Linked DNA regions of Homo sapiens: region 1 is linked to region 2. Evidence: promoter capture Hi-C in 16 types of primary human blood cells and fetal thymus (Javierre and others, 2016). All regions are on one chromosome and are shown on one strand. The core of a region is centred on a gene start or on the middle of the fragment in contact, and the rest is flanking DNA. Distances in the headings are between cores, read along the strand shown.

What was found. Contacts are between HindIII fragments. The CHiCAGO score rates a contact against its expected background, and 5 or more counts as called.
Region 1: a contact is called between a fragment that was not itself captured here and the fragment with the promoter of ALKBH3-AS1 in region 2, in 1 of 17 cell types (endothelial precursors). The highest score is 5.2, in endothelial precursors.

Annotation. Positions count from the first base shown.
Region 1 is chr11:44,061,287-44,065,826 of GRCh38, forward strand. No RefSeq gene overlaps it. Among named protein-coding and RNA genes, the nearest start is that of ACCS, 2.7 kb to the right of the region's middle. The HindIII fragment of the contact is 1,793 bases long and covers 2,395-4,187 here.
Region 2 is chr11:43,918,335-43,922,776 of GRCh38, forward strand. It overlaps ALKBH3-AS1 (ALKBH3 antisense RNA 1), which reads right to left and starts at 2,610. Exons shown (of 6, transcript NR_038907.1): 1 at 2,540-2,610; 2 at 2,052-2,130; 3 at 1,252-1,328. It overlaps ALKBH3 (alkB homolog 3, alpha-ketoglutarate dependent dioxygenase), which reads left to right. Exons shown (of 10, transcript NM_139178.4): 9 at 704-802; 10 at 1,584-1,940. The coding sequence ends at 1,676. It also overlaps a transcript of ACCSL not described here. RefSeq lists an enhancer at 1,892-3,091. The HindIII fragment of the contact is 1,418 bases long and covers 1,697-3,114 here.

The sequences.
Region 1 (4,540 bases), core at 2,041-4,540, 140 kb after region 2:
TCAGAGCACTGATACTGTGAAGTGGGCAGAGAAGGGACTACTACGATTTTATGGATGAAGAAAGAGCTCACAGTACCAACTGGTGGCTTTAGTCGCTTGGGTTTGTGGCCGTACTTGCTCCGAATCCAAATTTGTTTATTCTTGTCAGTTTTCTTGTGTGTGTGTGTGTATGTGTGTGTTTTTGTTGTTGTTGTTGTTGTTGTTGTGAGACTGAGTCTCACTCTGTCGCCCAGGTTGGAGTGCAGTGTCACAATCTCGGCTCACTGCAACCTCTGCTGCTGGTTCAGCGATTCTCCTGCCTCTGCCTCCCAAGCAGCTGGGACTACAGGCACGTGCCACCTCGCCCAGCTAATTTTTATATCTTTAGTAGAGACAGGGTTTTACCATGTTGGCCAGGCTTGTCTCAAACGCCTGACCTCAAGTGATCCGCCTGCCTCGGCCTCCCAAAGTGCTGGGATTACAAGCTGAGCCACCGCTCCTGACCGATATAGCTCTTTTTAAAAAACCTCTAGTATAACGTTGAATAAAAGTGGTTGAGAGGACAGCCTGCCTTGTTCTCAGTCTTAGTAGCATTGAGTGCAATCTTCTGCTCTTGAGTATAACGTTACTGTATTTTTCATTCTGTCCCTTATCTAATAAAGAGTCCTTCTATTACTAGTTTGCTGGGAGTTTTACCATGTATGAGGGTTCAATGTTGTTAGATGTTTTTCATCTGCATTTATAGAGATATGATTTTTCTCTTGATTATCAATGTAGTAAGTTACATTGATTTCTTAATGTTAAAGCAACTTCACATTGCTGCAATAAACCCCATTTGGTCATGATGCATTGTCCTTTTATATACCATTGAGTTTGGTTTGCTATTTTAAGAAGTTTACATTCAAGAAGGACATCATTCTATAATTTTTTTTTTTGTAATGCATTGTTAGTTTCAGTATCATGATTAATACTGGTTTCATAGATGTTTGGGAAACTGTTCCTTCCTGAATTTTCTAGAAGTTTGTGTCCAAAAACTTCTTCAACCTTTAAATATTTGGTTGAATTCAGCTGTAAAACCATAAGGGCCTGGAGGTTTTTTTTTTCTTCTTTTTTTTTTTTTGTGGGACGGCTTTTACTTATAAATTCAATTTCTGTGACAGTTCGAGTTTTCTATTTCTTGTATCAGATTTGGTTATTTGTGCCTTTCAATAAAGTTTGTCTATTTCATCTAAGTTTAATTATTGACTTAAAATTGGTTATAAATATTCTGTTATCCTTTTAATACATTTAGGATCTTTAGTTGTATCTCCTTTTCCTTTCCTGATACTGAAATTGATACATGCAGGAGGGGGATTACGGGGAGGGTCTCCGGAGAATCTCCAACCCATCTGTGCACTGGGAGAACAAGATGGAGCCAAGGGAAGCTGTGGCCATGCTCAGCGGGGAGGAGCCTGGCCTCTTCAATTTCTGTGTGGTGGCCTGGGATTCAATGTGAGTTTGGAGGCCTGTTAGCAGGACCCCCTCTTGCTCTGCTGACAGTATTTTTCTTTTTTCCTTTTTGCCCAGTAAATTCCGTTCCCCTCACCCTTCAATGTGTCCATGTTCCTAATCCTTCCTGGTGGTGTGACAAGAACCCGGTTTTAGCTGAACTAAGGAGCAAAATTCTGCAACAAAATGAGTTTTTTTGATCAGTCAATCTAACTGTTTATCAACTGTATTGAACTTTTCAAAGAACCAACTTTCAGTTTCATTGATTTTTCTCGTTTCGCCTTCATTTCTGCTCTTATCTTTATTTCTTTCTATTTACTTTGGGTTTAATTTGCTCTTTTTTCTAGCTTATTAATGTGGAAGCTTAGATCATTTGTTTTAAGTTGGTTTCAAATATATGCATTACAAGCTATTCATTTCTCACTTAGCATTATTTTAGCTACATTCCATAAACTTTGATCTGCTGGTTTTTAATCATTCAAAATATTTTCTAATTTCCCTTGTGATTTCTTTTTTTAAATCAATGGTTTGCTTAGCATATGTAACTTAGTTTCCAAATATTTGGGGACTGTTCAGCTTTCTTTGTTAATGATTTCTACTTTAATTTCATTGTGACTAGAGAATGTACTCTATGGTTTCAATCCTTTGAAACTTATTAAGACAGTTTATGGCCAGATTTGTTTACAACATGTGGTCTATCTTAATGTTTCATTTGCACTTGAAAAGAAGTATATTCTGTGGTATTGGGGATGGTGTTCTATAAATGTCAATTAGATTAAATTTTTGTATAATGTCCAAAAGTTCTGATCCTTAGTGTCTTTTGATCCATTTGTTCTATCACCGAGAGAGTGGTATAAAATTTTCCAATTATTATGAACTTGTCTTTTCTCTTTTTCGTTCTGTCAGTTTCTGCTTCATGTATTTTGAAGCTTTGTTATTACGAGCATAAACTTTTAAGATTGTCACCCTGATAAATTAATCATTTTATTCTAAAATGCCCCATTTTATTTTTGTTAATTATTTTTGTCTTGAAGCCTACTATCAGATACCAATATGAACACATCAGCTTTTTTCATGATTATTATTTGCTTGTTTTTTTTCACATTTTTACCTTTGACCATTTGTTTTTGTATTTAAAGTGTGTCTCCTGCACACACCATATGCTTGATTCTTGCTGTTTTATCCAGTCTGATGATCTTTTAATTGATCTTTAGTCAATTCACATTTAATGTAACGTGTGTGTATGTCTTCCACTTAGGACAAGTGCCTGTGTTTGTTGTTTCGTGGGGTTAAATCCCCCTGCTGCATGTTTCCATGGTACCCAGTAAATAGTCTTTTTAAAATAGTCCCCACATTGTAAGTCGGCCTTCCCAATCAATCATGCAGGCTTTGGTTTGTCTTGCTCATCACCGTATCCTCGCATTTTACAGAGACCTGGCACATAACAGGCATTCACTGAGATGTGAATTACATAGAATTAAGATTTAAATAGAGGAAAATAATCGCTTCCTTATCTTACAGAAGAAAACAGTAAGGGCCAAAAAAGTCATGAGAGTTGCTCAAGGTCACAGTGTTAGCTAGTGCAAGGCAAAAGTGAAGACAAGAAGTGGAATGGCCAGAAGACAGCCATGTCTTCCCAGCCATACCTGTATTGAGAGATTCTGCTTATTTCCTTTCATGGGGAAAGAAGACTTTCCCATTCAAGGCACCTCAGAGACTGCAGCTCTACCTGGGACCTGGGTGCCCACTGTACCCATTGCCAGAATATGTAGAGCTTAGGGCAGAGTTTGAAAAATACTTTTGAAATTATATGTGTGTGTGTGTGTGTGTGTGTGTGTGTGTGTGTGTATGTAATTTTTTTTTTTTTTTTTTTTTTTTTTTAGATAGAGTCTCGCAAACACCCAGGTGGGAGTGCAGTGGCACGATCAAATTCACTGCAGCCTCTACCTTCTGGGCTCAAGTGATCCTCCCACCTCAGCCTCCCAAGTAGCTGAAACCACAGGCACATGTCATCAAGTCTGGCTAATTTACAAAAACATTTTGGCTGAGTGCAGTGGCTCACGCCTGCCATCCCAGCACTTGGGAGGCCGAGGCGGGCAGATCACGAGGTCAGGAGTTCAAGACCAGTCGGGACAATATGGTGAAACTCCATCTCTACTAAAAATACAAAAATTAGCCAGGCGTGGTGGTGCGTGCCTGTAGTCCCAGCTACTGGGGAGGCTGAGACAAAAGAATTGCTTGAACCCGGGAGGCGGAGGTTGCAGTGAGCAGAGATTGTGCCACTGCACTCCAGCCTGGATGACAGAGCGAGACTCCGTCTCAAAAAAACAAAAAAACATAAAAACCTTTTTTTGGTAGAGACACGGTCTCTCTATGTTGCCCAGGCTGGTTTCAAACTCCTGGGTTCAAGGGATGCTCCCACCTTGTCCTCTCAAAGTGTTGGCATTACAGGCGTGGGCCGCCACACCTAGCCAGAGTTCAACAAATATTGCAGGCACGTGTGGGAGACCAGGACATGCCTCCCCAAAACATGAAGGATTGTGCTAAAGACAAGCAGCAGCACATTCAGGAAAGCTCTCTACCCTGGCCCTATTTGCCTAAAAGTAGGACACAGGTTTACAAAGACAAAAGGTATCCTGTCCCTCTGTCTACCTAGGAGAACAAAGACAACTTTAGACCCCTATGGCCTGGAGATGGTACCAGAGGAATTTACATTAACAAGCTTGACTAACTGGCCTTTGTCTTTTTTTTTTTTTTTTTTTTTTGCCTTCTCACAAGTTGCCTCCTGGAGAGACTCAAAGCCCTATTTCTTTGTCTTGTAACTTAAAAAAATTACTGTTCTTTGTTGAAGATGCTATAAAAACTGGAATTCAAAGTCACCTCTTCCAGAACGACTCATTCCCTCCAGATTTCTCATGTATAAATGAAATACACATGTCAGTAAATTTCTGTCTGTTTTTCTCTTGTTAATTTGTCTTTTGTAACAGGAGTCTCCCCCAACTAAGAACCTATGAGGGCTACAGAAAATCCCCTACAAATGAAAGGGGCAGAAATGACAAACTGCGATGAAAGG
Region 2 (4,442 bases), core at 1,360-3,859:
CATTTGTATCCTAAGTGTACAGGAGTCGTGATCCATCCTCAAAGATGTAAACAGCCAATCTCAGTTTGACAGCACTGTTTTGGTCAAGCCAGAGCTCCCTTTGAGAAAATCTTGCTGTTGTCTGTTCTGGAAAGAGGCAGGAATATGTCTCCAAAACTCCATAGTAGCCATGAGAAGAATTGAGACTATAGGTGCCAATTAGTAAATTAGCATACATTGTGAAAAGGTGAAGGAAGTCATCGCATCAAATCTTGGTTAAAAGGACATTTTTCCCACACTGAGTATGTCAAAATGTAGAGCACAACATCAGTCAGATGTAAAGAATTCTTGTACAGGTGACTTTTATTTCCTTCTTAGGCCAGAATGGGCTTTTCTGCATTTTGGATTATGATGATGACACTAATAGCTAGCACTTACTGCATGCCAATCTTCAAGGGATTTACACATATTCTATCAATGGAGGCTCACCATAGCCCTAGGTGGCAGTCACTGTCATCCTCCCCATTTTACAAATGAGTAAGTCAGGGTACAGAGAGATGAGGTAACTTGCCAACAGTCAAGCAGCTGCCAAATGACAGAGCTATATATGGATTCCCACAGTCTGGCTGAGCAGAGGTTTCCATTTTTTTTTGACCTCTGTCAGGTTCTGTTGCATCTTGATTACACAGGCAAAACATTTATTACAACAAATGCTGTTTTCTAGGAAGAGAATGGAGACTACACATATGTGGAAAGAGTGAAGATACCCTTGGATCATGGGACCTTGTTAATCATGGAAGGAGCGACACAAGCTGACTGGCAGGTGAGGATCTGCAAGTAATATGAATCTGCTTTCATGTGGAGGCAGTTTCCTGACTCTGAGGACTATTTCTAAGTAGACATGGTGAAAAGCAAGCTGCTTTTACAACGAGCAAGAGGGAATGAGCTGACATTCTTTCCAAGGAGTTTTGCTACTACTGACAATCCAGGTGGACACTAGTGTGTCCGGTAGAACTTTCTGTGATGATGAAAGTGTTCAGTATCTGTGCTGCCTATTGTAGTAGTCACTAGCCACATATGACTGACTTCTTAAAATGTGGCTTGCATGCTATAAAGAACTGAGTTTTTAATTTAATTTTAATTAACTTAAATTTAAATAGCTTCAGGGTAGCTAGTGACTATCTTATTGGAATACACAGCTCTGCAGCTAGGCCATGCCATTTTTAGGCCAGATCATTTCTAAGGTGCACATGTTAATGTCAAAACACTTACCATAAGAATGGAATCTCATGCCTCTCTTTGGTCTCATCCATTTATATGTTTTATGAGATTTGGGAAATGGCAGGTGTCTGAGAGGAACAGCAACAATTAGAAAAGATGAAAATATCTCACTTCAGAGGTGCTGGCATAGCACAGTGGGGCTGGGGATGGAAATTTGTTTCAAAGAAGGGACCTTTCTCCACAAGACTTCAAAGAGCTTACTACTCATTTAAGGGGGATGAGATGGAAATATTTCTGCATTCTCATGAATAAGTTTTAAGTCGCTTTGAACTAAAAGTGTGTATGTGTGTATTTATGTCAGAGTTATGTGTATTTCCATTTAGCATCGAGTGCCCAAAGAATACCACTCTAGAGAACCGAGAGTGAACCTGACCTTTCGGACAGTCTATCCAGACCCTCGAGGGGCACCCTGGTGACGTCAGAGCTTTGAGAGAGAAGCTTCACTGAAACGGAGCAAACCTTCCACTGAGAAGCCACTTCAAGAGGCTGGTGCTGCTAGATCTCATGATGTGGCTGTTGGGAAGATGGTGGGGTTTGTTTGCCAGCTTGGAGTCCTATTAAATGAAAGCCAGCAACTCATGTTGGTAATAGGTCTACTGTGGGAACAGTTATCCCTAACCACAGCTCAAAATCGCTATCATCTTTAGGCAAATTAAAATCTATGTGGCAGTGCTCATGGATGATTTTGTTCTAAGCAGTTTTCCTCCTGCCCTCCCCCGCCCCCCACACGCCCCGCCTTCATTTGAAGAAATATCAATGGACTTGTGCCTCTGGGGAAAAGAAAATCTCACGTGTTTGTTCCTTGTGACTTCAGTGAAGTGGAGATATAAATATGCGTCAGGGACTCTGGAGCCTTCCGTAGGCAGACAGCTGCTGAAACCCAAACAGAGGTGGTTTCATCTTGGCTTGCATACTATTGTAATGGAAAGCTACATATTCAGGGAACACTGTAACTGAGTCTTCCTGCAACACACTCAAGACAGGTTACAGGCCTCCAAATAAAGAGTGGTGGCAGTATGCTCTCGTCTAGCCACCTTCAAGTAGTCACCTGTAATACAAGAGAAAACTGTCCCCTTAAAGGGAGGAATCACTGAATGATGTCACGGGAAGTAGCAGGCTGAAATTGAGGCTGAAGAGCAGCAGAAGGCCTGCTCATGACAGCTGTTCCACATAGATTATTTTCCCCTCGGGAATCACTTGAGTCATCTAGACCCAAGTCAGATAGAAGTGGGAGCAGCCCTGCAGGGAATGCACTCAATTGCCTAATAGTTCTCGTCACCTTGTGTTTCAGTAGCCCTATGACTAACGCTCTCTTCTGACTCAATGTTTTCTTACATACAAGGTCCCAAGGTACAAGGGTTAGTCTGTGATGTCACTGAGGTTCCCAAAACAAAACAGAGTGGCTGCCCATTGTTGCATCATAAAACCACGTGTCTTCTTGACCTCTTGACTCAGGAGCCGTGTACCAGATTCATTCCAAACCAAGATACAGAAAACCTGAGAGAAAGGAAATGAATTTAAATGGATGAAAATAGGGCGGGAGAGTTAGAGTTTCTCTGTCTGCCAGTGGGGGAAAGGTACAGTGCCTTCTTGCTTTTTATCCTGTTTCCATTCCAGGCTGTAAGATTGATGCTGTCCATGATCATAGGAAAATGCCAAAGGCTGGGCATGCTCTGACTCGGCACTCAGATGGAGCACCATGCCTGGCCAGGCTGTTCTCTGACAAGCTCTCTGGCTCCTGGCATTGTAGTCCCCCTGCCCTTTTAAAAAACAAAAAACAAACAAACAAAAAATGAGCACGGCTTGTTTCTCTAAGAAATATGAAATACTTTCTAAAATTTGAGCACCACACCAAGCTTTCCTGTGAGGGAGGTTCAAATCACCATAGGAATAAAATAAAGCCTCTTTTCAATGCTTAGCTGTTCTCCTATTAATGCAAATAATACCTGGCCAGGTGATACAGCCAGCTTTGGTGATCAGTTTGATGCATGACACTAGGAAATTTATCTTCCATTCCTTACTAATGAAAGAACTGGCAGATGGTTCCAAGTCTTCCAGCGTCCCTCTTTCTTAATGGAGGGTCATGATCTCCCCGTGTGGCAGCTGTGCATTTGATCTCTTCACTTGTCACACCCATGTCTTCCAGGGAAACATTTCTACTCTACAGCAGATGGAGTGGGCCACCACCTGGGTTTCTTGGTCTGAGAGCAGCAAATCTTCAGTTTTGTTTTTCTTGCTGTCACTCCAGATACCACATGCCAGAACTGCCCTTTTCTTTACCATTAAGATAATGTCCCTTCTGAAATGGCAAGTAGGTACTTGCCATAGAGTAAAACTACAGGGTGTAGGCATGGACAGGAATTCCAGACCATGGCAAAGGGCAGTGTGCCTCAGTGACTGCAGCAGCCTGTTGCTTTGTTTTGCTGGTGCTAGATCTGAACTAGGAATTAGAGGTGAAGCTGTTTTTGCTTACATCGCGTGTAAAGCTGAGGAAGCAAATATAACAGCGGTAGCATGAAGAAAAACAGGTTTCGGTTTTGTTTTTGCTGCCCTTCTTCTGAGCTTCAGCAGGCACTGTCCTAGGAGCTTTTATACATAATCCCTTATCCTTCCCACAGCGCTGCAAGAGAGAGGTCCTATTCCCATTGTAGAGGCTAGGAAACTGATCTCCAAGACGTTAGGTAAGTTAACAGGGCTTGTAGTGGCAGAACCAGATTGCAGACTGCAGGCTAGTTTCTCGGCCTGTTTGGTTTCCCTTTGCCATGCTGAATGTAGGCGAAATGGTCTGCTGAGCACTCCCGGGAGCCTGAGCCTCAGGGCTGGCTCCTGTGGAGCTGGTCACAGCTGACCACAGGCCACCTGTTTGTTCCCTGACTTTCCTGTTCATCAGGGCAGGCATCTGCATCTCATCTTTCCTTAATCAGCATCAGCATCCTCTAGCCAGAAACTGCTGGTGACTGGACTAGCAGTTGCCCATTTCATTGGGGAAGCTCCTTTTGAGGGGACAGAATCCAACTTCTGGTGAGTTAGACAAATTCTCAGCCAACTTTCCTTGATTTTCTGGCAAGTGTTTCCTGACCATATCCACCTTCAGAGATATGAAACTTTTAGAGACAGATAAGTTTTCCCCGGTGGTCCTTTCTCACCTCATTCTTACCTGTGAATACACTTGGGGACCCTGA